Regions from separate parts of the Homo sapiens genome. Here all the other regions are linked to region 4. The links are contacts of gene promoters, found by promoter capture Hi-C in blood cells and fetal thymus (Javierre and others, 2016). All regions are on one chromosome and are shown on one strand. The core of a region is centred on a gene start or on the middle of the fragment in contact, and the rest is flanking DNA. Distances in the headings are between cores, read along the strand shown. Region 1 holds the start of SNX16 (sorting nexin 16). Region 2 overlaps LINC02235 (long intergenic non-protein coding RNA 2235). Region 3 holds the start of ZFAND1 (zinc finger AN1-type containing 1). Region 4 holds the start of ZC2HC1A (zinc finger C2HC-type containing 1A).

Evidence for each region. The method cuts DNA at HindIII sites, captures the fragments that hold promoters and counts their contacts. A CHiCAGO score of 5 or more calls a contact.
Region 1: a fragment that was not itself captured here is called in contact with the fragment with the promoter of ZC2HC1A in region 4 in 1 of 17 cell types (activated CD4 T cells); the score reaches 6.8 in activated CD4 T cells.
Region 2: a fragment that was not itself captured here is called in contact with the fragment with the promoter of ZC2HC1A in region 4 in 1 of 17 cell types (M0 macrophages); the score reaches 5.2 in M0 macrophages.
Region 3: a contact is called between a fragment that was not itself captured here and the fragment with the promoter of ZC2HC1A in region 4, in 1 of 17 cell types (naive B cells). The highest score is 6.0, in naive B cells.

What each region holds. Positions count from the first base shown.
Region 1 is chr8:81,838,544-81,843,426 of GRCh38, reverse strand. SNX16 (sorting nexin 16) reads left to right here and starts at 1,242. Exons shown (of 8, transcript NM_152836.3): 1 at 1,242-1,305; 2 at 3,345-3,815. The coding sequence starts at 3,441. LINC02235 (long intergenic non-protein coding RNA 2235) reads right to left here and starts at 808. Exons shown (of 8, transcript NR_170320.1): 1 at 756-808. RefSeq lists enhancers at 558-827, 1,259-1,308, 1,236-2,168 and a silencer at 1,639-1,688. The HindIII fragment of the contact is 404 bases long and covers 3,016-3,419 here.
Region 2 is chr8:81,856,750-81,861,771 of GRCh38, reverse strand. The region is part of intron 5 of LINC02235 (long intergenic non-protein coding RNA 2235); the gene reads right to left. Among named protein-coding and RNA genes, the nearest start is that of LINC02235, 17 kb to the right of the region's middle. The HindIII fragment of the contact is 291 bases long and covers 2,255-2,545 here.
Region 3 is chr8:81,719,688-81,724,289 of GRCh38, reverse strand. It overlaps ZFAND1 (zinc finger AN1-type containing 1), which reads left to right and starts at 2,990. Exons shown (of 8, transcript NM_024699.3): 1 at 2,990-3,063. The coding sequence starts at 3,009. RefSeq lists enhancers at 3,035-3,084, 3,012-3,956 and silencers at 3,255-3,324, 3,355-3,494. The HindIII fragment of the contact is 2,343 bases long and covers 2,038-4,380 here.
Region 4 is chr8:78,662,793-78,667,814 of GRCh38, reverse strand. It overlaps ZC2HC1A (zinc finger C2HC-type containing 1A), which reads right to left and starts at 1,726. Exons shown (of 9, transcript NM_016010.3): 1 at 1,651-1,726. The coding sequence starts at 1,666. It overlaps LOC105375911 (a long non-coding RNA gene), which reads left to right and starts at 1,836. Exons shown (of 4, transcript XR_007060972.1): 1 at 1,836-2,810. RefSeq lists enhancers at 1,573-1,622, 1,587-2,094, 2,095-2,603 and a silencer at 1,693-1,912. The HindIII fragment of the contact is 1,596 bases long and covers 716-2,311 here.

The sequences.
Region 1 (4,883 bases), core at 1,968-4,467, 3.2 Mb before region 4:
GGGCTCTTGAGCCACTGGCTGGAGGCCATTCCCACTCTGTGGAGTGTACAGTCATTTCAATCTCTGCTTTCCTTGCTTCATTCTTTCCTTGCTTTCTTTGTGCGTTTTGTCCAATTCTTTGTTAAAAAAACCAAGAACCTGGATGACTTGTAGTCAAGACCCTCCATGGGTAACATTGGGACTATACAAAAGCCTTAGAAATCGTGGAATGATTTTTCAACCACATTATCTGATTCTAATGATGAACAGACCTGTAGACCGGTCTGAATCTTGGGATTTGCCTATCAAAAAACTCGGCTTTCCCTACTGCACAGGTCTTCAGAAGCGCATGTCTAACAAGGCTAATATTCCATCATCGGGATCAAATTGCTCACCGGATAGTAAAAAGACACTACAGAATTTCAGGGGTTCTCTGCCAATGAGAACTTCTGAATTATGTAGAACGGATCAGCTACTAAGCAGTGTTCTATCTTCCTACTCTTCTAATCGATTGTCATCCCTTAAAGCGCTGCTAATTCTAGAAAACAATCTATAACCTGTTAGAATCAGCGCAAGCTGGTGATGACTACAAGTCCCATGATGCAAAGTATGAGCACGGACCAATGTTGGTCGCAGTTCCTTCTGGGAATTGTAGTCTTCTCCTGTTTGGCAAACTAGGTATTGTAGCCTCCATTTCTCAGAAGTTCAGTTGGAAAACTAAAGATAGTGCAGAGAATGTCGATTTCCTGCCACAAGATTACATTTATCTTCGCTACCTGAGCGCCCAGCCGATCAACTCCAGTCGCTCCTCCGGTGGGCGGGCGCCCATGCCGTGACATCACTTCCGGCAGAGATGTGTGTGTGACGCTCTCTCTCTCTCTCTCTCGCTCTCGCTCTCTCCCTCGCTCGTTTTCTTTCTCTTTCTCTCTCTCTCTCTCTCTCTCTCTCTCTCTCTCTCTCTCTCTCTCTCTCTCTCTCTGTCTCTCGCTCTTGCCCTCTCTCTCTCTCTTTCTCTCTGTCTCTGTCTCTCTCTCTCTCTCTCTCTCTCTCTCTCTCTCTCTCTCCCTCCCTCCCTCCCTCCCTCCCTCTCTCTCTCTCTCTCTCCCCCCCCCCCCCCCCCCGCCCAGTTCGGCCCCTCCTTCCACACAGCAGGGATCTTGGGCCCGGGCAGAGACTGGCTGAGGCGGGGAGCAGCTGCTTTTGGGGCGGGGGTGTCACGTGAGGCTTCTCGCTGCTGAGGGAGGAGGCGAAAAGCTGCGGTTAAGGAGAGTCCGGTTTAACCGTCACCGGGAAGCGCGCTCGTTCGGGATCGCCGAGGGGGCTGAGGTAAAGACTGGGTCATTACCTCAGGACAGGCGGTCGCTGTCCCGGGTTCTCGTACGGGTGACACCTGCAACCTTGATGTCTGGCGGGCGGCAAGGGGCTCCGCGGGAGAGTGGAGAGGCGCCGCAGGAAGCCCAGCCACCTTCAGGCCACCGCCGACCCCACTGTGCGTCTGGGAGGCGCTGGGCGCGCACCGGTCAGCGGAGGCGGGAGAGTCTGTGATCCCAGGGAGCTGCGGGTCTCGCCGCCTGCAGTGCGGAAGACCCGTGACCGGCGCAGACCCCGGCCTTACCTTCCGAGGGTCGAACTGTGCCTGGTATTTGCCTCTTTCCTCCCGCCCACGGGGTTGCTCAGAGTCGGGCCACCTCACCTGAGGTTTTCCAGAGTGAGAATGAACTGAGCGTCCTGGGAGCAACTCCGCATCAGGGTAGAGGCGAAGACGCTCCTAATGAGCACAGCACGTTTTTTTGTTTGTTTGTTTGCTTGTTTTGTTTTTTTAACGCTTGGGTAGCGCTCACATCTTCGGACGTCAGTGGTTGTGTTGATATGTATTGATATGCGACCTCCCCCCAGCCAGGCGGCCTCAGGTAGTAGAGTGGCAAAGGCCAGGTAGATCCCTCGGACCTTGAGAAGGTTGAGATTTCAGACTTACTTGTTTTTGGGGAGGCCGTCAGGCGGAACCGAGGAGCGGTGAATCAGCAGCTAAAGTTTCATGAATCTTTGATAATGGGGAAATGTTGCCGAGAGCCACTTGAGTTAAAAATCTTTTTTTTTTTTTTTTTTGAGACGGAGTTTTCCTCTTGTAGCCCAGGCTGGAGTGCAATGGCACGATCTCGGCAAACTGCAACCTCCGCCTCCCGGGTTCAAGCGATTCTCCTGCCTCAGCCTCCCAAGTAGCTGGGATTATAGGCCTGCGCCACCATGCCCGGCTAATTTTTGTATTTTTAGTAGAGACGGGGTTTCACCATGTTGGCCAGGCTAGCCTCGAACTCCTGACCTCAGGCGATCCACCCGCTTCATCCTCCCAAAGTGCTGGGATTACAGGCGTGAGCCACAGCGCCCAGCCCAGAGTTAAAAATCTTATTTCAGCATCTTTCCAAGTCCAGGTGACTCATTTCTTACCTTTCCCACCAGTAGAGTTTCGTATGAAAAGTTGGGCAGTTATTGTTGTGTGTAGTCTTGTCATTTTGTTGGTCTGTAGTTGTTACAGTTTCTTATGAGTTTATTATTTAACAAAGTAATAGTAAACCATTTCTTCTTTGTGTTATGATACTATTCTGACACAAGATATACTGGTCCGTTTGATAACAGATTCTTGAGTGTAAGTTATAAAGATTTAAATACCCTCAGTTTATCGTAGAGCAGAATTAGTGATGACCTGTAAGCTGTGAAGAACGGTTACAATTTTCACTATTTAATTTTGTTGCATATAAGTTCAGTGTTCACTGGGTTTTATTTGAGTAACTTGACCAAGTGTGTATTTTTAATCCTGGGTTCTATAGAATTATACTATGTAGCATCAAAGCATCTGGTTCATTGTTACTACTCTGTGTAAATCTTTATAGTTTCACTAATTAAATTGAAAGGTAATGTGAATAGATTTCCTCCCTTTCTGATTAAATCCAGAGGTAATGTAAATAGTTTTCTTCCTTTTCTTTTTTCTCTCTTGTACTGAATGTAGTACTGTCAAGATGATAAGCATGGAATAAAGCTTCAGAAGGGTCTTTACCAATCTTTCTCCTACCAACTTTTACATACATGAAATCAGGTTAAAATGAACTTTACAGAAATACTTCACAAGGGAATAAAGTAGAGGAAAAAGGGATAACATGTAACATGGAGTCAAGGAAAAAGAGTGTGAAGTAGTTTTGCTCTCTCTATCTTGCAAATAGGAGTCCTTAAAGACAACTGGGAGAAGGGGTTTGAGGTATGTTTTCATTCCAAATAAAATAATAGTGTCATAAAATTGAAAAGAATACTTTTCTTTTGAATCCTGCTGCACATTAAAGACTAACCTTTTAATATGTCCTTTTCATTTTTAGATAGTGAATTCCTAAGAAGAAAATAATGGATTGCATATTAGTTGTTCTCTAAGTGGACTCAACAGTGTGCAAGCTTGTTGGAAAAGCCAAAAGAAGATGGCAACTCCTTATGTCCCAGTTCCTATGCCCATAGGAAACTCTGCTTCCAGTTTTACAACAAACAGAAATCAAAGAAGTTCTTCTTTTGGCAGTGTCTCAACAAGCTCAAATTCTTCTAAGGGCCAGTTAGAAGACTCAAATATGGGTAATTTTAAACAGACAAGTGTTCCTGATCAAATGGATAATACTTCATCTGTCTGTAGCAGTCCCCTCATTAGGACTAAATTTACAGGTACAGCTTCTTCCATTGAGTATTCTACTAGACCAAGAGACACTGAAGAACAAAATCCGGAAACAGTGAATTGGGAAGATAGACCATCTACACCTACTATACTGGGTTATGAAGTGATGGAAGAAAGAGCTAAATTTACTGTAAGTATTGACTTCTGCTGTATAACACTACAAAGTGAAAGATTGGCTAATCTCTGTGTTCAAACCAGTGTTAAATTAATGTAAACTTGTACTTATAATTTCTTGAATATGAAATTCTAATGGTTTTTACACCACTGAATTCTATCATGTTGTAGTAAACTTTTGCTTTACCTTAATAAATTTTCACAAACCAGACACACCTATGTAACTATTAATAGCACATAAATCAAGGAAAAGAACGTTACTAGAATCTTAAATGCTCTAGGTTCTCTGCCAGTCAGGACCCATTCACCCAATACTTTTGTATAGCCTAGATTAATTTTGCCTATTTTTGTACTTTATCTAAATGGAATTATATACTCTTTTTGCATCTGGTCTCTTTTCTTTAGCCTTGCCAAATTACATGCCCAGCTTTAAAAGATATTGGTGAACAGTGTTTCAGAATGGTTGTACTGATTTATACTCCTAAAAGCAGCATATAAGAGTTCCAGTTGATCCATAGCTTCCTAACATGTGATATTTTAACATTTTTATCATTTCAGCTGTTCTCATGGGTACAGAGTAATATCACATTGGTTGTGGTTTTAATTTGAATTTTCTTAATGACTAATTGAATTTAAAATTTTTTTGGGCTGTTTGGATATTCTCTTGTGAAATATCTGTGCATGATTTTTGTTCATTTTTCTTTTGGGAAGTCTCCCTTTTGATTTGTAGTTTTCTGTGCACTTTGGATATAATTTTTTTTTCAGATACATGTATTATGACTATCCTCTCACTCTGTGGTTTGCCTTTTCAATTCCTTAATAATACATTTGATAAACAAAAGTTCTTAATTTTAATTTGGCTTGATTTATTACTTTTTTTAATGGCTAGCACTTTTTGAAATCTTTGCCTACTCCAAGGCTACAAAGATACTGTCCTATGTTTTCTTCTAAAATCTTTATTGTTGGACCTTTCACATTTAGATTCGTAAACCACCAGAATTGATTTTTGTCCATGGTGTGAGGTGAGGGTCAAGTCTTTTTTTTTTTTTTTTTCCAGATGGGACCAATTAATCAGGCTTTTATT
Region 2 (5,022 bases), core at 1,151-3,650, 3.2 Mb before region 4:
CCTTCCTAACAGCTTTCAGGTTTTAATTTGGATATCCATATTCGTGCCCATGTAACCTACATATTTTATGTAAAGCTGATTCAGATTCTCAGACCTCAGGGGTAGACCTTGGTTGACCTAAGACAGCAAACATGTTCTATTCCCCTGACCAAAGTCACTGGTACATTGTTGGGCATGTGACTTAAACAGTTTAGTCAGTATGAATCTCAGGGCTCTTGGTTGGCATATTTAGACAAAAGTTCTTTCTCACTGGACTAACCAGAGAAACACATAAGCTTGATTACTACTAGCAGCCATTCTACATCCATGAGGCTAATTAACCTAACACCACAGAAAGGAGAACAGAAAGTCTCGCAATCATCCAAACCTGAAATCTGTCCTATTTCTAGATTTTTCTGAGAATTAAACCAAAAATTTTCTTACTAATTTTTCAGCAAGTTTAAGCTATAGTTTCTATTATTTATACCCCCAAAGCATACTACCTAATTCAGGATGTGGTATTAAAAGATGAAATGGGCTGAGTGAGAGACGCAGGGTACAGGGCAATATCTTCTATTGAGTAGTAGGCTATCCTGATTATGAGGTTGAAAAAATAAATGTTGTTTAAACTGTTAACTGCTGTGATGGGAAAGAAACAGCCACACTTCATAAACACTGCATTCTCCAAAAGGGCACACCATCCTATCTTAAGACCTCCTCTAACAGTACCTGGGTGATGTTGGTGATTGGGCCAGTTCTCTGAACTGGCACTCCTCGATAAGAATTTTGGAAAATATTGTAGCTTTAACTACTTGTGCGCTATACTCTTAGGACATGGGGACACTTAGCAACTTGTATCTTCAGCTTTGGATTTTAGCTATTTCAGGACAACATAGAAATCTCATTTGTCACCTAGGTGCATAATCTTTATCTCTATGTTTATACCTTTATCTATACTTACAGCCATAGCCATACCTATGCCTATATGAATATCCATATACATGCTTATATCTATATTTATACACATATATATCCATATTTATGCACATGTCTATGTATAAATATATACATCCAGCTGCATACTTAATACAGTTATGCATCACTTAACAGCAGGTATACATTCTGATAAATGCATCATTAGGTGATTTTGTCATTGTGCAAACATAGAGTGTACTTACACAAACCTAAATAGCAAGGAGGCTGAGAAAGCAAGTATATTAAAATTTACAATTTTATATTGGGAAGTGTGCTCTGACCTCTTACCAAGATACATAGGGCAGAAATTCCCCAGGCACAGCAAAAGATTCAGAGAGTTGGCTACCAATAGGGTCCATTAGAGAGTTGTTACATGAGCTTCTGCCACACCTAGGCTTATTACACATCTAGGCTAGATGGTACAGCCTATTGCTCCTGTGCTACAAACCTATACAGCAGGTCACTGTACTAAATACTATAGGTAATTGTAACACTATGGTGTCTGTATATATAAACATCTCTAAATATAGAAAAGGTAATGTGTTGTGCTATGACATTACAATGGCTACAACATCTGTAGGTGATAGAAATTTTTCAGCTCCAATATGATGTTATGGTACCACCATCAGATATGCAGTTCATCATGATCAAAACATTGTTATGAGACACATGACTATACTGCATTGTTGTAACATTAGAATTATTATAACAGTTAAACAAGTAAATATATGTAGATGCTCAACTGATATTTGTCAAAAAATTAAAGGTTCCTGCAAAATTTTAAATTCTCAATAAAGGTTAGCCATTATTATTTGTATCTATTGTATCTATCGTAGTATAGATAGTTACAGCAGAAAATCCTAACTTAAGCTTGCTTATCAATAGAAAACATATTATCTCATGTAATTTCAAATTCAAAAGCAGAGTAGACTCTGGGTACAGTACAATCAAAGGCTCAATGATATTATCTAAATGCTTTATCATTCTTCATTCTGCTGTCCTCCTATTGGCTTCATTCGGAAGAGATTCCCTTGCAATTGCAAGATGACTGCCAAAGGCAGTCAGGACTCTGTGCTTTTTTTGTTCATATGCAATTGAAGAGAAGAGGAGAATATTTTCCCCCACGCACAAGAAATAAGTACTTCTCTTCTCTTAGCCTTTTTCTTGGCCCTTTTCTTCACATGCTTATGTAACAAGCAGCCAAAAGTTGCTGTGTCCAATTTAAGGAAGATATTAAGGATATTGACTAGCTCATAGAAATTCTAGAAAGCTTGGGGACAATGCAGCCAGAAACAAAGCTTCAAACTAAACCACAAAACTAGTCTTGTGAGGATGCTGTTACCACTGAACATTAGATCCTATACTTCAGACACCAATCAGGTTCATTTGATTAGCATGCCTAGGGCATGTATCTATACATTAGTTTCAAAGGAGGCTGAGAAAGCAAGTATGTTAACAATTTACAATTTTATAGTTGGAAGTGGGCTCTGACCTCTTACCAAAATACAGAGGGCAAGGATTCCCTAGACACAAAAAAGGATTCAGAGAGTTGGCTGCCAGTAAGGTCCATTAGACAGTTGTTACAGAAGCTTCTGCCAACTCAGCCACCCACGCAGTATGGTGCTCCCTGAGGAGAAGAGGATTGTGAACAAAACTGAAAGAACTGGCTCACTAAACTCTGTAATACTTTCAGATTCATGTAAAAATTAAAGAAGCTTCTCCATTTCAGTTGACTTGTACTGAGTCTCCAGCTTAGTGGAGGTAGGTAGTATTACCGACAGCTCTCTAGCTTGCATCCATAGTGTCAGAATTTAACTCAAGAGACACTGCATGACTAATCTCTTTTAGGGCAAAGGCTAGTGCAGAACTGTCAAGGCAAGCAGTGACTCAGCCAGCGGCAAAGGCAATGACAGCACCTCATCCAGCAACAGTGACAGGGAACAACAACCAGAACAGATTCCCTAAAGCATTGAATATGCCTTTTAGGGATGCCAAGAATATTCAGGAAAAGAAAAATCTACAAGTGCCTGAATTCCTTAACAAGGAAGTCAGGGTTTGAAATGAGGAGGAATTGGGTATTAAATTTAGAAATCTAATGTCTCAGGGACATATGGATCACATATGTGATTAGAGAAACATCTAGCACTTACTTCCTGGAATTGGAGCTCTTACAAGAAGGAAAAGGGAGCACTTTTGATAACAAGTTTCCCTTTTTCTTGTGAGGCAGTTTTCCTGGAAGCTCAGCCACCAGATTTTTGCAAGGTTGTTTTCTTGTAGACACTAAAATTTCAGCAGTCATGACACATTCTCAGAAAAACTTGATTTGATACCCCAATCTATAATTGCTTCACTTCCCCCACCTAAGCAACTCTTACATTACTCTATTTTATTTTCTGCAAAGAATATGAATATAAATTCTTAAAACTTAGTTATTATGTTTATGACTGCTCCTGCATAAGCCTTCACCAGAGTCCACCAGAATATGGACCTCATGAGAACAGTGAACTTGCATATCTTGTTACTAGTAAATTCCTGCAGTCTTAGAACAATAACTGGCACATACGGTAGACACTCGAGAAATATTTGTTGAATAAGTATTAAGATCTGGCTCCTCATAGAACTAAGGCCATTATTATAACCATGCAAAAATTCCAGTTTTATGCCTGCAAGTCTTTAATTCAATTCAAACAATATTGTCTCATTATTAAGCAACTTCTATATAATATCATTTACACATTTCTGCCTGGGACACTCTTCTACCCAACTATATTCCTCGTCTCCTCTCCAGAAACATGCTTCAACTGATCAACACCTTCCAATCTGTCTGGTTGATCCAGTCTTTCAACATGGAAAATGAAAGAAGTGAGACATCAGAACTAATACCAGAGAGTAAGTCAGAAAAACAACAGAAGACTAGAGGACAGAATAGGCACAGGATAACATCAGTTTACCAAGATGAAATATTTTTAGGGGCCAAAGCTAGGGTGCATAAATTATGCTAGAATTAGCTAATGGTCAAAGTGAAAGAAAAAAAACTGAAATCATTTGGGCTAGATACTATGTGTATTAAATGGTGTGCAGAAACCAGGACTTCCTGGAACTAAGTTCAGAGACTTAGTTTTCAACCAGTGTCTTGCCAAGTGTGGCTTTTCAAAGGTCCAGGCTCCACTTCCAAGAGTGAAGGAGAATGTAAGGCGGAGTGGGAATCTGGCATGGGTTTTGGAGACAGAACTGGTTTTGAGTCCTAATGATGCCAAACAAGATAACTTCTCAGAATAACTTTCCCAAAGGACAAGCTAATCAACCTCTCAGCAACTCAAATCTGTGAAATACAATTATATTAGTAGTACCATCTCACTGGATTATTGTGGGGTTTAAATAAATCAATGTAATGTGTTAATTTATTATGGAACTCATTTCACAACTTATACAAATATTGAATCATCATGTTGTACACCTTAAATTCATACAATTTTATTTGTACATTGAAGCTAAATAAAACTGGAAAAAACAAATAAGTAAATAAAAGTCCATAGGAAAAAACAGAAATATGGGTCAAAAATTAATGGACAAGGTCAACAGCACAGTTCTCTGCTCTTAACTGCTATTTGTTCATTTAACAAATATCTATATACATTATTACTAATATTGTTTACATCTTTTAAAGTAGCTGAGCTGCCTAGTTGACTCAGGAGGTAATGATAATAGCTATTGGATTTTTTTGGCAGTCACTTTGCTAAGCATTTAACAAGCAGGATTGTTTTTAGTTTTCAAAATAACCTCATAAGAACTATCATTGCCCCATATTTCACATGAAAAACATCAAAAGTAACCCAAACAAAAGACTCGTGGGTAAGCCAGATGTTTAAGTCCTCCCTGAAGAGGTATCAAGCTCCTCTAGAAGATAAGCGGGAATCCTGGTGTTGATGGGTTAGAGACTTGCTGCCTTTTCAAGGATGTTTTCTCCTTGGAAACTTTTTTTTCTTTCTTTTTTGGAAGAGTCTCTTATAAACTGGGGTGTTAAAATCCCTAGCACTGGGAACTCAGAGAATATATATCATTCTCTAC
Region 3 (4,602 bases), core at 1,960-4,459, 3.1 Mb before region 4:
ATGTGTTCATTCTAGGGCCCAGATTGAAGAGCAGTAGCTACTTGCCCCATGTTCCTCTCATGATGGAGCACTAGAGCACAAGGGCCAAGCCAAACCTCATGTAAGGCCTCTACCTGGGTCAAATTGGCCAATGTTCTATAGGCCAAGGAAAGTTACATGGCCAAGCTCAAAATTAAGGAGGTGGTAAAGTACACTCTGCCCTCAATGGGATGGAAAGAGAGATATTTGCTGACCCATAATTCAAAGTCACACCTGCTAGTTCATAACACTTTGTAAATATTCATATTAAGGGATAATAACCTCAATTAACAACTATGTTCTATTTTATCCACATTTATTAGTATTATATTTAGCAGAAATTTTTCATATGAGAGATTTAAAATCTATACATAATAATATAACTTATAGTGAATGATCACTATAATATGGAATTTTAATATAAACATCACGGCCTTCTTTTCAAATGTATGACAACACATGAGGCATTTTTCCCCTCTTAATTTTAATTTTTAAATGTTATTCTTCAGCAATCATAACTTTTTTTTAAAGGGTGGTCACAGTCACTGAGGATAACTACAGAGACTAAGTTCTTTTTTTTTTTTTTTTTTTTTTGAGATGGAGTTTCTCTCTTGTTGCCCAGGCTGGAGTGCAATGGCTTTACCTCGGCTCATTGCAACCTCCTCAGGTTCAAGCGATTCTCGTGCCTCTGCCTCCTGAGTAGCTGGGAATTCAAGCACGTGCCACCACGCCTGGCTAATTTTTGTATTTTTAGTAGAAACGGGGTTTCTCAATGTTGGTCGGGCTGATCTTGAACTCCCGACCTCAGGTGATCCACCCGCCTCAGCCTCCCAAAGTGCTGGGATTACAGGTGTGAGCCACCGCGCCCGGCCTAAGAGACATTTCTGAGGGAGAATTGACAGTGTTTAATGGCTACTTCCATGAGAAGTAAGAAAGGAGAGGTGGAGAATAAATCCAAGATTGATTGATTGGTTGAATGAAACAAGTATGTGGCAGGCTGCCTTTGTTAGAAAGGGGATGATATGGTAGGAAATTATCCCATTTTGGGCTTAAGACACCATGACAAATGAATGCACATAGATAGATCTATCAGACAGTTGGAAATAGTTACTTCATGTTTGGTAAAGTGTTCTCAGGGCTGAGAATATGGGTATGAGAGTCTTTAATATGGAAGCCATGGGAATTTCACTTGCATGAGGATGTAAATTGATAAATGGACCAAAGACATAAACATAGTGAAATAGATGTGTTTAAGCAGCACCTAGAGAAGAAATCAGCAAAGGAGACTAAATAGAGAAAGCAGAGGTAGCAACTGCAATCTTGGCTACGCTAATCATCTGATGTTCTATGAGGTGTCCAATAACTGAAAAAATAAAAACATATCCATAATAATTGGACTGATAAAACATATATTTGCCACCTATCTAGAACATTCCAAACACCTAGTAAAATTCCAGGAAACCTGTTATTGATTGATCTGATCAACTTAAACATAAAATCTAGGTAAGCCACTGATCCCTAGATCCAAGAATACCAAAAGTCTTTAGTACTTGCATTTTTTGTCCTGGTTCATCCACTAATGTGAGCCAATCATTTAATGTCTATGAACTGGTTTTCTCATCTTAATAAAAGAAAAGCTATGGAGGCTGGGATAGCCAGATGACATCTTATAAAGTTTCTCCAGAGACTCAAGCAATTCTGAGACGGAAATCTTAAATAGATTGGCTCAAGAGCAAATGCAGAAGAAATGATTCCCCTTTCCTAGTGTCACCCTTCGCCCTTCCTCAGTGATTATTGATTGGGAATCTCCAAAGGTATATAGGAGGCATCGAATACTTTTCTAGTTCCTGTCAGGAGTGCAGGTGATTGTCACCCATCCACGCTGAATGGTGCCTGGCATCACGTTGGTGGAATGGCATTCATATGTACCCCACCCAGAAGTACCTCTCCTTCAGTACCTTTGCAGTGGCTCACCAGGCACCTGATACTCCCCTACATCCCAGTGGAATCCCATAAGCTTTCTTCAGGTAGTTGTGCTAAATGAGTCTGGGTTCTCTGAGGAACTCTGTAAGGTTCAGTACACATTCAGGGGCTCAGGAGTTAAGACTTTTTTTTTCCCCCTACCAGAATTTAAAAAAAAAAAAAAAAAGGACAAAGATAAAGAAATATTAACTTTTTAAAAAGCCTGATGACTGTTTTGCAAGGGGCATGTATGTTACACTACATAATCAAGTAACACTGGTTGAGGGATGGCTCAGGAATTGAATAACCCATGTCTGTCTCTTTTGCTTGATTATTGCAACACTGTGTGCCCGGCACTGTTCTGGTTCCTGGAGTTCTACTAACTTTTAAAAAAATAAATGTGAAGCCGTTGCTGATTTTCGTGGCCGTATGCAGGGAACCGCGGTAAGCAGTCGTCCAGAAAGGCAGGTGGGCATTTCTTTTTCATTTTCTTTTTTTATGTTTTGAGACGGAGTTTCGCTCTTCTTGCCCAGGCTGGAGTGCAATGGTCCAATTTTGGCTCACTGCGACCTCCGCCTCCCAGGTTCAAGCGTTTCTCCTGCCTCAGTCTCCCGAGTAGCTGGGATTACAGGCATGTGCCACCACGCCCGGCTAATTTTGCATTTTTAGTAGAGACGGGGGTTTCGCCACACTGGTCAGGCTGGTCTCGAACTCCTGACCTCAGGTGATCCGCCCGCCTCGGCCTCACAGGGTGCTGGGATTACAGGCGTGAGCCACCGCGCCCGGCTGCAGGTGGGTATTTCTTTAAGGACTAGGCGAGAGGCCTTCCGCTCCGAGAAGAACACTCACAGAACAGTGGCCTTTCCTGGTCACGGCGAATGCACCTAGGACAAATCGCACAGCTGGTTTCCAGGCCCCGCCCCCACCTGTAGACTCCGCCTCTGGGTCCGCCACTCTCCCGTCAGGCGCCGCGCGCGCTCATTGCCCCGCCCCTCAGGCTTTGCCCCGCCCCTTACGGCGCCGGAGAGATGGCGGAGTTGGACATCGGGCAGCACTGCCAGGTGGAGCATTGCCGGCAGCGAGGTGATCCGGGAGCTTCCAGCCCCCATCCCCGGCCGCGGGAGACCAGGGCTCCGCTTTGGCTCCGCGGATGGTGGCGGCGGGTGAAGGGAGGCCACAAGGCTGGGCAGGGCCTGAGGAGCGGGGTGGGAGCGTTTCTTCTGGGGCTGCAGTGAGATCGGTTGGTGCGGGTTTTTTTTGGCCGTGAGCTTTTGAAATGACGTGTGGTCTCCTTGGAAGGAAGCCATGCAATTCCTGAGGCAGGGCCTGAGGAGCGGGGTGGGAGCGTTTCTTCTGGGGCTGCAGTGAGATCGGTTGGTGCGGGTTTTTTTTGGCCGTGAGCTTTTGAAATGACGTGTGGTCTCCTTGGAAGGAAGCCATGCAATTCCTGAAAACGTACCTTGCAGTGTTCATTTTGGTGTTCGAGTGTGCCGTGTCCGAGCAGTGCACGAAGCCCACTGCTGGATCGCGTGGCTCACACTTACTCTGCTGAGCGCGGGTATGGGGACGCGTAGGTTTGGTCTGGGACTGTTGTCTTTTGGCTTTGCCACTGCGACCTACGGCCAGCTACTTTCCCATACTTTTTTTTACTTATCTGTTACGTAGCTGTCAGGAGGAGTTGGGGGAGGTCAACTCGCCCAACTAGTGTTCACGTGGATGTGTGTCCGGAAGAAGGCCCTTCCTTAGCTTTTATCAAATTCTCAAAGGCATCCTGATCCTCAGATTATTCCACCAAATGGTCATCATGCTCTCCCAGCTCTGTCATTCCCTGATTCTCATTATTATTGTTTGAACAAACATTTACAGATTATTGATTTTGGTGCTTGGACCACATAAGGGTGTAAACTACAGTCTTTTACACGGAAGACCTTTCCAACTAGTAAGCTGCATTTTAGAGAGAATTAGTTAATAATATGGCAATGGGCTCTCCCCATTGCACTGAGAGACCTTGGGATATACCTAGTCCAAGGTGATGTGGCATTGGCTTCAGGATGCCATACACCTTGAAAAGGCAAGTTTTTGAAGCATTAGAACCACACAGACTGCTCAGTCGTTGTTACTAGGTTTCACACACTACATAAGGTAGCAAACAGGTTTAATCTCCCCTTGGAACTTCAGTCATTGGTATCAAGTGCCTGAATTACCGTGTCAAAGACTCTTGAGATTTAGCCCAGTTTCAGTGGAGTTCCATAATTGATTAGTGATTTCTACTGTGGGAATGCGTGATAGGACAGGTGACACAATCCCTTCTAGGTTCTTGTTACTTATAGCCATCTATCTATCTATCTTTCACCACTGGCTGTAATAACAAGCCAGTGTGACTTTTTTCATGTGGAAGCTTAGCCATTTGGGTTTTGACTGTGAATTATGTGTGTCTATGCCTGATCCTTCGCTAGTGAGTCCAATACACATTATATGCCATTCATGACATAGTTCATTTTCCTTTCCAGCTATATATGTCTTTAGTGTCAATAACTGAGATGAGGCCAGGCCTATCTGTTTGGGACTAGTGGAAAGCAGTTAAGATTTAGACTACGTCAAGTGTATATCCTAAATTTTATC
Region 4 (5,022 bases), core at 477-2,976:
TTTAAAAACATTCGTAGTAAGGTTTCAATAGTAATATCTTAGCACTGTTAAAATGTAAGGTCCACTAAAATGTAGGTTCGATGAGAGTAAAGCTTTATCATTTTTATTCTTTGCTGCAACCTAGAACCTAAAAAGATGCCCATAATAGACATTTATTTAACAACAAATATTTATTGAGTACCTACTTTGTGTCAGACATTGTTTTAGGTGCCTAGGATACATAAGTGAAAAATCAGATGATGATCTTTGTCTTAATAACAAATGTTGAATAAAATAATAAAAATCTGCAAACTGTTCAAAACACTTTATAGATAATATGTAATAAAACCTTATCATATTATATATGATAATCTCATGAGAATTCCATAACCCATGCTTTAATCCCACCAAGATACAAAAGTATCTTGAAAGTAAAATATACTGTACTATCATTACAATTCCTTATTTCATGGAAACTTGAATTATCTTCCAAAAACACATAAGCAAAAAACAAGACCTTCATTAGGCCATAGCATACTGCAGCTGTCCACAAACGGAAAATTATCAGAATCATTTATCAGAGCAAAAGCACGAAATAAACTTCTACTCATGTTATTACATCTGCTTTTTGGTGAATAGGTGACTGAAAAAGTTACCGGCTACCACTTTGCACTTCATCACACAATGTAGAATATTTTACTCCCTGGCATGCAACAATACACAAGACTCAAAAGCTTCTGCTCATTCTTAATTCCAACTGAATCCGTGTAAACTAGGAGACGGGGGAAAGGAGCTAAATCAAGACAATAGGATCTTTCAATTCTGAAGGTTTGTTCTTCATCATAACAAATTAAAAAATCTTGAAACTGTTGTTGCCAATGCTAGTTATTGTGGTTTTTGTCCTTCCTTTGTTTTTAGGTGAATGCTTTCATTACACAGGATAAAATGGGTAAACAGAATAGAGAAAAAGTGAAAGAACTGGGAACAAAGCAAAATCTGGAGTCATGGTTACAGTACAAAGATAAACCCAAAGATAAGGAACCAATACAGGCTCTTCCTCACACAGCGGCCGTGAATAAGTCATCAAATCCTCCGGGTAATCTATTGTACCGGCTCTAAAGCTGGCCAGTGACACTTCCTTAGGAGATGCTCTGACATCCCTCCGACAGAAGATGCTGTCGAAATGTAAAAAGCCGGTTACCTAGGGAAATCGGCCAAGGAATGTCAGGAGCTCGAGGCTGGAGACACACCCCGGGGCTGCAGCACAAAGTGGCCTGTTGGTGTTAAGGCCGTGGACAATAATGGAGAGAGTCCAGTACAAGGAAAACAAAATCTGGCCAGAGACTGGGATCACTAAAAGGGCACTCAGGAGTCAAGCAAGATCAGAAAATGGTAGGAAGAGACGTGCAGGCGTCTTGCCAGGGGCAGGATCTGGCTCCGGGCGGGAAAGCCCAGTTGAAGACCGTCTGAGGCGGGGCAGCCTGGTAGCGTTAGCTCCACCGCATCGGGGACTGTCCGGTTCCCTTCGGCCCCAGCCTCCGGAGGCGCGGCGGGACGCGGCGAGGTCCGCCGCACCGAACCAGCCCTCGCCTTCCTGCTACTGGTGTCCAGGGTCCCCAGCTGTTTCGGGCCCGCTCTAGCCGTCCTGCCCTCATCCCTTCATCGCCTCACCTTCCAGTCCCTCCATCGCGCCACCTCCTCGAGCTCAGCGAGACTCCTTCAGCAGCGCCCGCCACCGCCCAGCTCTGGCTGTAGCAACCCAGCCGCACCTCCCACCCGCTAACATTCCGAGCTCCCATTGGTTCCGCAACTGCGGGGGCGGGGATCCGTGGGGGCGGGGCCGCGGCGGAGGCGAGGTTCCTGCGGTCTCCTCCTGGCTGCCACCCCTGTCCGTCTCTCCGGGTTACTCTCCAGGGAGCCGGGAGCCGCTTCAGGTTGCAATCTGCGATGCAACGGCGCCTTTGTTTGACTCCAGCCTTGTTTTGCCTCATACCTTATCCTCCTATTTAGAGTACCTCAGCACCTCATGGGCTCCGCTTCACCAGTTCCTCAATCAGTCAATGCCTCTGACTTCTAGCCGCCATCCCTCCCAGTGGATACTTTAAGCAGGCAAGCAAACCAAACAAACGCCCAGCACGCTTGCATGCAGCAATCTCCGTTTTCCGGTCTTTGGTCGCATGACTTGACCTCAGCGTATCCCCTACACTTGATCTTCACACACAGCTTCATAGGTTAAGACACTTTTTTTCCAGAGAAATCATACTTTCTATCTGCGATTGTGGAACTGCGATTGCTCTAAGCCCTTGAAAACAGTTTCCTCACCATGAAAGCTTGGGCCAAAAATTAGAAGTGAAACCCAGCCCTCCCTCTGTCTTCTACTCTTGGCCTACCTTGGCCCTATACTTTATCATCCATAAACCAAAACAGTCGCCTGGCCTGACAATGTTTGATCGGGGAAGTTTGAGTTGGGGAATTAACCTACAACCTGACAGAATGAGGCCCGCCCGTCTCTAACAGAGTTCAAAACCTCCTGAAGATGAAAGTAACTTCAAAACTAACTCAGACCATTTTAACGGTTTTGCTTACAATTACCAGAACTACATTTCTTTGAAAATTTGATTTAGCAATCGTAAACAAGCTGTACTGTTTGCTGACTATAGCGTATCTACTGGCAAGTTACCAGTATTAATGTGTTGTCCATAACAAACCTCGGATTAATGTTATTGTTAATCTGTTTAATTGAAGAGTTTAACTTCATATCTAACTTCATCTACTATGAAATCAGTTACCTTCAGGAAGCAGGATTCCTCCTACTCTCCACTCACATGAAGGTATGTTTAAACAAGCAAACACTTGAGGGGGCATCATCTCTTACTGAGAAGGTGCTCCAAGTGCATTTGAATGTGGTAGAGTCCATCTGTTGTGTGGAGCCATGTAAAGACCACTTCAACCATGCCTCAATGACTCCCTCCGCCCTTCCCTGGTTCCCCTGGCTCTTCTGCTTCTCTGAGATCCTGGGCCTCCTTGGCCAACCCATAGCCTTGCAGGCAATAAGCTACTCTAGACTGGGTGCTGCGGAAAGGTCCTTTTTCTTCCTTAGTGCTACTAAGGCAAAGGTAGAATTTTTGGTTGGGAGGGAAGGCCTTTTAAAAGAGCATTAAGGAGAAAAAAAAGCACACAGAAGAAAATACAAAAATAAGGAAGCCATTATTTTACAAATTACAAGTTCTTTCACTGAAGGCAAGACGAATATTGAGTTGGCTGATACCTTATTCGACATAAAATCTACAGTAACATTAAAAATAATAAAAATAGCATTAAAGAATAAATCATGTGAGGCATGTTTTAGGCCATTTTCATATATTCACAAATCTTCAAAAGAAATCTACAAAGTAGATACTACAATCTTCATTTATCAGAATTAAAATGTTCATTTTCTAGATGTCTCAGAGCAATTAATATTTTGTCAATATTTGTATTATTAGTGGATGGTAGAGCTTGGCTACACTCTTGTCTGTTAAATTCTAAAGCCTATGGTGATTTGATTGGGCTCCTCACTCCCTTTCCTTGCCTTGCCTTTTATTATAGCTGCCTCAAGTGTAAACCCAAGCGTTCAGACATGTTGTTTAACATATATTTGAGTAGGCATTTCTATTGTGAATCTTAATTCTCTAAAACATGATTGCTAGTCTTCCCTACAGGTATCTTCATAACTTTTATGCTTTTGGTCTCTTCATAACTTTTACGCTACAGCTACCCTGGCTCCTGCAGCTTTTCCCTGATTCTGACCCCTGAGTAAAGAGGACTTCTTCCTATCTGCCTTCAATAAGTTCTTTCCTCTGCCGCCTACATACCTAGCCTGAGAGTCTTGTCTTGGCACTGTATCATGACATTACTTCCTCTCCAGTCTAATCCATTTTTCGGCATGCATTCATTCAACAAATGTTTGTTGAGTACCTTCTATGCTTCAAGTCCATTTTATCACTAGCCAGTTACTCAAATGAATGAAACTCAGCTTCTTCTCATGTTTTTAAGCACTTACCTGTACATAATTTTTCTACCTGCCATGTGATCTTGTTAACTGAAAATAACATTTATAGATCAATAAGAATTCGAGATCTTCTGACCTCCTTATCATACAAAAAGGAAAACAAACTTTCAGAGATGTTTCTGACTTGGTCAAGATCACAAAACTAGTACTTAACTGAAATAGATATTGTATCTGTGTTTTATTACATCATACCTTGATTCTTTCCACTTTGCATTATATTGCTTTCAACCACCATTCCCTTAAGCAGATCCACATCTATTCTGCACATCCCAAAAAGCTGAGCAAGCTGCATATAGCTTCTTGTTTCAAAGCTCCAGTCTCTTAAATCCCACACGAAGTTCAAGTCCCCTTTTAGAGAAAGCCATTGGTTCTCATTCATATCATTTGCAGAGCACAACTAAATGAGATTCTGAGTCTCGGTGAGAACTCAGTTTATCACCTCCACTATGTAGGACATTTCTTCCTTCCATGACCAGAAGAGGAATAACCTACCACAATTTAGCATATAAAAATAATTCATACATTTGGTAATCATAAGAAAATGATAATTTTCATCAAAAACATAAGAAAATATTTCCCTTAAAACTGTTCTAGAGGGAGGAAGCATATTCTGAGTTGGCTCTTGCTAGTTTTATTTGAAGTAAAAATAAAATTTTCTAAGTGTTCAGGGGGAAAATAGTGATAGTTTCTCATGGCCTGGAATAATCAGAAAGCATATAGGTAGGCTGTCACGGGTGAAGATTTATTGAAGGAAAAATGTCCTAGACAAGAAACATCAAGAAAAGAAAGAGGGGCTTTAAAAAAGTGAGGAACTTAAAGCAAACTTTACCTACTACATTGATTGAAAGGCTATTCCATTCATAGTGTGATAGCAATTATTCTAGCTCTATGCTTCCCTACTTTCAAACTAATTTTCAGCTGCAAAAAGATCAGTTTTTTTTTTCAAGTTTCGGCTATGATCTTGCCTATCCATCCCTTTGCATCACAATTTC